Linked DNA regions of Homo sapiens: region 1 is linked to region 2. The links are contacts of gene promoters, found by promoter capture Hi-C in blood cells and fetal thymus (Javierre and others, 2016). All regions are on one chromosome and are shown on one strand. The core of a region is centred on a gene start or on the middle of the fragment in contact, and the rest is flanking DNA. Distances in the headings are between cores, read along the strand shown. Region 1 has its middle 44 kb from the start of ADGRA3. Region 2 holds the start of ADGRA3 (adhesion G protein-coupled receptor A3).

Region 1 (3,690 bases), core at 963-3,462, 44 kb before region 2:
CCCTGGCTTGCAGATCACCACCTTCTGACTGTGTCCTCACATGGCTTTCTTTCTGTGTATACACATATCTAGGACCTTTTTAAGGCCATCAGTAATATTGCATTAGGGCCCCAGACTTATGACATTATTGAACTTTAATTATCACTCTAAAGGCTGTAACTCCAAATACAATTCCACTGGACTTCAGGACTTTAACATATAGAGATGGAAATCTAAGCTCAGAAAGCTGGGTTTATAATGCCAGAGCAAAACAAATTTCCAAACTCGTGGAAAAAATAGCCCCCCAAAAAATCCCTAATTCAGATCTCAATGCTAGAGTAGCTAATTCTTGTTATATAAAAGAAAATATTATAAGCATACAATAAATATGCACTAAAACTTAATGTTTGGGGTCCATCAGAATATATGAAAAGCATCCTTGCTCTATTTACAACATTGTGTTCTTATGCAGATGAAAAATAATCAGCTAATACATATTGAATATCGTATGTCTTCCTTCATCTTTCATTCTCCAGCAAGAAGCACTGATTTCTAACTAGACACTCTGCTGTGCATACAAGAAGAAAAAAAAAGAAAAGAAAGAAAAATTAATTTCATGGTCTACAAGATTTATTGCACTAAAAATTTAAGTCAAATTGTAAGCTTAAAAGATATAATAAGATTCATAAACCTATTATTACCCTGAGTTATTGCCCTGAAGCCTCAAATTTTACTATTTAAAAATCTGTGAGGAATGAGGAATATTTTCAAAAACAACCTTAATTTGTTTATAATTTTTAATGTATATGTTGTATATATCCTAGATTTACTCATTGTTTTGCAAATTATCCATTTATGCATTCCTAATATGTGCAAGCCCTGAAGACTGATATTAGCTCTCTGATCTTTGTGAACCTCTGAAAATGTCATTTTCAATGGAGATTTTCTTTTAAATAAATGTATAATTTCTGTTATGACCAGGTAATGCCATTGCTTAAGAGTGACAAGATAAAAACAACTTTTAATGTATCTATTAAAAGCAAAGCTTGGGAATACATTATTTCAAAGTCATTTCAAGAAGCTACTAACTACAATTTTTAAATTAAGTAAATTTACATAGTCTAACGTATTTTCATTTCTTAAAAGAGTTATATTTTAAAAAATGGACTCGAGAATATCAGGCTTTGGACAACCATTTAAATTAATGTTCCATAAATCACAATTAATCTTATTTAGAAGATTAGCCCATATAATTAGTTTACATACACATTATTAGAACAATAAAAAGCTCTCAGTTATGTAGTTGTTCATAATTGGAATATTAAGTTACTGCCCTAGTTTTTTAAATTTCCAAACAAGTTGTCTAATAATTATTTGGTATTTACTCAGCTTATGTTTGCATTGCAAAACTTGGATTTCTACTTGCAAAGCTCAAACATGATTTGTTTAATGGGAGGAAGAAGATAAAACATTTAGGTAAATGTCAGTATAGTTGAATATGTAAATTGTGGAAATAGATGCAAAAGATTTGAATCCTTCTGACAGCACCCTAAAACGTAAAATGGAAAAAAAAAATCGTATCATCTTAAAAGCATTATCCATGCAGAACAGAGACTTATTAGAATTTTGTTTGAATCTGACTTTAAAATCTATGGTAATTCTAAACCATTTGTCTCTGACAGTCATATCACCAGTGAAGAATTAATCTATCAGAGTTGCTGTCTCTTTCTCTTCTTTCTCTACTTTGTCTACTGCTCTTGTTCATTCTGTCTCTCCCACCTTTTCACTTTCCTTTCCTTTTTCTTTCTTTCTCTCCCAATACAACAAAAGTTTACTTACTCAAACCACAGCGAATACACCTGACATCCCCTAGAATTCCATTATTTTAAGCGTTTTCTTCGTAGAATTATCTTTCCTAACCATAATAAAGAATAATGGGTGTTAGAATATGTGACAGTTAGTTCTTATCCAGACTGTTTCTAGCATCAAACAAAAAATTTCCAATATGCAAAAATTAGTATTTTACCTTATTTCATTAATAAGAATTAAATACTGTAAATATGGAAATATCATTTTCAAGTTTGTTATTTTAAAGCTTCTTTCAAGGGTTTACCTGGAAGCTACAGAAAATAATTTGATTCACTTCTCAAAGGGTACCTGTTTGGGTTGAATTCATATGTTGAAGTCCTAACCTTGAGGAACTCAGAAAGTGGCCTTATTTGAAGACAGAGTCTTTATGGAGACAGTCAAGTTAAAATGAAGTCATTAAAGTGAGCTCTAATCCAACATCCTCTGGTGTCCTCATAAAAAGGAGAATTTGGGCACAGAAAACACCATGTGAAGCTGGAGACAGATATGGAGTGAAGCTTCTGTAAGCTGAAGAATACCAAAGATAGCCTGCAAACCACCAGCAGATAAGGAAGAGGCATGAAACAGATTCTTTCTCACAACCCTGAGAAGGAACCTACCCTGTTAGCATCTTGATCTCAGACTTTTGACCTCCAGAAATGTGAGACAATACATTTCTTTTGTTTAAGCCACTCAGTTTGTGGTACTTTGCTATAGCAGCCTTAGCAAACTAATGCAGTAGGCCAACTTTTGTGTGATTTCTATTTTTAACTTTGGGGCTTATAATTCTCATCATGTTTTCATATGAGTTGAAAATTTCACTGCTACATGAGTAAAAGAAAATGAAAATGGGAACACAAGTAGGAAAGTAAATCTCAATTCACAGTTGGAATATTAAGGTATATCCAGTCTTCAGATTGAAAAACCTCAAAAATCCAAGCATCATAGAATTGGTTCCACAACGTTATAACAAGCTATCTGGCATTATTAATATATTTCAGCATTATGTGTCAAAAGAGCACTGATTCATAATTTTAAAACAAGATTTGCCTCAGAATGCAAAGTTAACGAAACATCCAAAAGTTAATTAACGTACTACACCATCCACATGAATACAATAAAGGACAAGATTATCTCCACAGAGGTAGGAAAAGCATTGACAAAACCAACAACATTTTGATAAAGAGTATCCACAAACTAGGAATAGAGAGAAACCTTCTCAACTTAAAGGGCATCTACAAAAAAACACAGCTACCATCATACTTACCGTTGGAGGATTGAATGCTAACACTCACACTTCTCAAATTCAAACTTACTACAAAGCTATAGTCATCAAGACGGTGTGGTAATATAACAGTAGACACATAAGTTCTTGGAATAGAATAGAGAGTCCAGAAATAAATACCCATATTTACGGTCAATTGATTTTCGACAAGGGTGCCAAGACAATTCAATGGGCAGTAAGAAGTGTTATGAATCAATGATGCTGGTAAAACTAGATATCTACATATAAAGAATAAAGTTGGAATCATTTCTCACAGTATACACAAAAATTAGTCCAAAAAGGACCATAATCCTAATATAAGAGCTAAAATTATAAAACACTTAGAAGAACATATAGGCATAAATCTTCATGACTGTGGGTTATGCAAAGCCTGTTAGATATGACACCAAAATTATAAATAACAAAAGAAAAAATAAGTTATATTGTATAAGTCAGGGTTATCCAAAGAATCAGAACCAACAGGATGCATGTAGAAAGAGATTAATTATAGTGAATTGGCCGACATGATTATGGAAGCTGAGAAGTTTCAAGATCTGCAGTTCCCAAGCTGAAAACCCAGGAGAGTCATTGGTATAAAT
Region 2 (3,826 bases), core at 137-2,636:
CCAAGCAAGAAAAACCGTGTTCTAGGCCCTCCATTTTAGAGGACACCAACCTGACTCTTCTTATGGGGTGAAAAATCTCCAGGCCAGCACCCAAAGCCTGGGTACCCACTATGTCCCCAAGACCCAGGACCCTGGAATTCCCTGACTGGTATTACCAAAGCCACTTCTTGGCCCTGAGCTAGCTTCTTCTGAGAACTGTCCTCCCAATGAAGGACCCAACAACTGGTATAGGCACACCTGAGATCCAGACGCAGACAGAGGGTGGCTGTTAGAAAGTGTGAACAGAACTTGGTTTTGTGGGCTGCGGTGTTCACACACAGGTACAAAAAATCCCCTCTTGTCCTTGAAGATAGCTGGGCACAGGAAGCAAAGACGGTGAAGGTGTACAGGCCAAAGGTTTGGATCTGACTCTTTCCCACCTGCCATGTTTCAGGGAGAAACTCCAAGGTGTCTGAGAATCCTGCTTACAAACCTTCCAGGTTGTTATGAAGGTAATTTCTCAAGGCAGGAGCACAGAATATATTTTATTAGCATGATATAGTCCTTGTAAAATTTTAAACATAGGGTAGGTAAGCCCTGGGCTTGCAAATGTTAGGGCGAGGCTGGAAGTCAGAGTAATCAATTCTGTTGGGGTTTCTTGGAGGGTTTGCTCATTATTGCTCGAACTGGTGAACATCTCAAGTATCTTTGCCTGTCGAATTTCTTTCAAAAGGCTGCCTTTCTAGTGAGGTCCAGATGCATCCTTTAGAGACCATCGCTGTTGTTGCTGAAGGCCAGAAACAGCTTCAGATTGTTCACTGTATTGAAGAGGAACCTGTTTACTGGCTCCAGTGTATTTGGGACAAATAAGACTACCATAATGAGGTGAGAAGGCGATTCCTTCCGAAACACTTGGTTTTGGGTACTTTTCCCATAGGGTTGGTCAGGGAAATTCCCTACTCTCGTCCCTACTCCATCCTCCGGGCCAGGCTCCTTGGGCCACATGGGCAGTCTCCAGGAGCGCACAAGACTGCTTTGTCCTGTGCCCGCGGTGCGAGCGCGGTGGCGGCGAAGGGAAACGAGCAGGAGAGTGGCCACCGCGGGTGGAGTTTGGACTCGAACTTTCCTCCGTTCGGACTCGAACTTTCCTCCGTTCTCTCTACGAGTTACTGCCTTCCCGCGGGCTCCCCACAACTCCTGCCCGGAGGCCGAGGCCCGGGCGCGCACCGGGTCGGAGTCGGGCTCGGCAGGTCCCGGGAGCGCGCGCCTCCTCCCCGAGGTCCCGGGCAGCTGCAGACACGGGGAGAGCAGGAGAGCCGGGAAAGAGGAGGGGAAGGGGCGGGGGCGGCCGCCGGCGGCGGGCGGGGAGGAGCCGCCGCGCGCGGGTCCTGGCCAGGGGAGGAGGCAGTGGCGGCGGCGGCGGCGGCAGAGGAGGAGGAGGAGGCGGTGCTCGCGCCGGGCGGTAGAGCGGCGCTGGGACCCATGCGGCCGTGACCCCCGGCTCCCTAGAGGCCCAGCGCAGCCGCAGCGGACAAAGGAGCATGTCCGCGCCGGGGAAGGCCCGTCCTCCGGCCGCCATAAGGCTCCGGTCGCCGCTGGGCCCGCGCCGCGCTCCTGCCCGCCCGGGCTCCGGGGCGGCCCGCTAGGCCAGTGCGCCGCCGCTCGCCCCGCAGGCCCCGGCCCGCAGCATGGAGCCACCCGGACGCCGGCGGGGCCGCGCGCAGCCGCCGCTGTTGCTGCCGCTCTCGCTGTTAGCGCTGCTCGCGCTGCTGGGAGGCGGCGGCGGCGGCGGCGCCGCGGCGCTGCCCGCCGGCTGCAAGCACGATGGGCGGCCCCGAGGGGCTGGCAGGGCGGCGGGCGCCGCCGAGGGCAAGGTGGTGTGCAGCAGCCTGGAACTCGCGCAGGTCCTGCCCCCAGATACTCTGCCCAACCGCACGGTCACCCTGTGAGTATCTCCCGCGACGCTGGGTCCTCTCCCGCTCGGCTCTTTCTTATCTCTCCGCTCAACTTTGGAGCAGGGTCCAGCCGGCACCCACGCGCCTTTGTGTGGAGCTGTAGGCAGGGGGCGGTGCTAGGAAAGACCTCGTGTGCTTGGCATGGGTGCAGTTCAGGGAAAGGCAAGGGAATCTGCGTCCGAGCTGCCTCCCAGCTCCACTAGTTTGCAAAGTAAAGTTTTCGGGTTCTCAGGCGCTCCCCGCGCTGTCCCCGGCGCAGCGCTTTTGGGCTGCGCGGTGCCACGTGAGGATGCAAGTAAACACGCAGTCAACAGAGTTAAAGCTCATTCATCCTGGGCTTGGGTTTCCAGAAAACACAATGCTTGATTGCAAGCGCCAGTCCTTCTGCTTCTTTGCAAATTAAGTTACACTTACGTGGTAGAGTTTGCAAAACACAAGGACTGTGTGCGAGCCCAAACCCCAAGACGCTTCCTTTGCCTTTTGCTATCTTAGTTTTATTACAGTTAAAGAGCACCTTTTAAGATAGAGTTGTTATTAAGGGCTGGAAACATTTCAGATCAATCTGTTTATGTACCTTGCAGTCCCGTTTTCGTGTCTGTGAGGGCTTATATTTAAAAGCCAGGAACATTGGAACTGAAAACCGTGGGTTTATTGAGCCTTCCAACTCGAGGGATTTTTGATTTTCGGATTGAGTTTCCACCTGGAAGGAAAAATTTTGGTAACTCACTTGTGCTGGGATTCACGGTTCAGTTTTGCAAACGTAGTTTTGCCAATTCTAGCTGAACAGTTGGCCCCAGTGACTGTCGAGTTTGTTTTCAGAAGGATGAATTGGTTTGGAAAGTTTTGAGTCTAAGTGTTTCTCATGGGTATTTTGTTCAACTGAAATGTGAGTCCCTTGGCTCGGGGTTCCTCTATGTTGTTTTGGTTGGTTTCCTAAAAAAAGAATCAAGGCAGCCACTATACAAACATGAATGCAAGGACCGCAGCATGATCTATGAAAACACTTAAAGTATGGTTTTAAATGTAACCCAAATTCAGCAGGAGTATACACAGGTAGGCCAGGTATACATTTCATTACTAACACTTTTGTTTACCTTCATTTCCATTTTTTGAATTAGGAAACGTTTAACCATGAAAATTGTGTCTATGTGTCTATTTATGGAGGCATGAAGATGGATGAAAGAGTTTTTGTTTTATTTGACTCCGTTACTAACACGTTACCATGTGGTGGTGGCAGCAGTTATATTTATTTATTTCTTAGTCAGATTCTTTGAAGTGGAAATTTTCGGTATGGGACTTTAATTACAGTCCAAATGGAGAAAATCCCAATGTTGGAGGAGATTTTCTTTGTTACTCTGCAAAAATTAGTCATCATGCAGTTATGTTATAAACATTTAGGTTTTGGGTCAATGAGTGACATTTACGTTGACTCATGTTTAGGTCCAGTTTTTCTGACCTAAAAGTGTCCACAATTTCAGCTGGATTAGGTCAACTACTAGTAAATTGTTGATTTTGCGTTGCAGAAAAAAATAGGGGATATGGTGGTAAATTGATTTTCAGCATATTACCAATTAAACTATTTTTCTACAATTTTTAGAAACTGGTTAAAATATAAGTAACTATGAAATGTCATTTCAATCCAGTTTTTTTTTTTTTTTTTTTTTTTTTTTTTGCCTGAAAGCTTTTTAGATGAAAATAAAGTTAAGGTTGGGCATGGTGGGCTCACACCTGTAATCCCAGGGCTTTGTGAGGTCAAAGCGGGTGGATCCCTTGAGGTCAGGAGTTCAAGACCAGCCTGGCCAACTTGACGAAACCCTGTCTCTACTAAAAATACAAAAATTAGCCAGGCGTAGTGGCGTATGCCTGTCATTCCAGCTACTTGGAAGGCTGAG

What was found. The method cuts DNA at HindIII sites, captures the fragments that hold promoters and counts their contacts. A CHiCAGO score of 5 or more calls a contact.
Region 1: a fragment that was not itself captured here is called in contact with the fragment with the promoter of ADGRA3 in region 2 in 1 of 17 cell types (fetal thymus); the score reaches 5.4 in fetal thymus.

The regions. Positions count from the first base shown.
Region 1 is chr4:22,558,664-22,562,353 of GRCh38, reverse strand. No RefSeq gene overlaps it. Among named protein-coding and RNA genes, the nearest start is that of ADGRA3, 44 kb to the right of the region's middle. The HindIII fragment of the contact is 271 bases long and covers 2,077-2,347 here.
Region 2 is chr4:22,513,626-22,517,451 of GRCh38, reverse strand. It overlaps ADGRA3 (adhesion G protein-coupled receptor A3), which reads left to right and starts at 1,386. Exons shown (of 19, transcript NM_145290.4): 1 at 1,386-1,924. The coding sequence starts at 1,668. It overlaps MIR12115 (microRNA 12115), which reads right to left and starts at 2,140; the gene lies at 2,067-2,140. The HindIII fragment of the contact is 8,309 bases long and covers 1-3,617 here.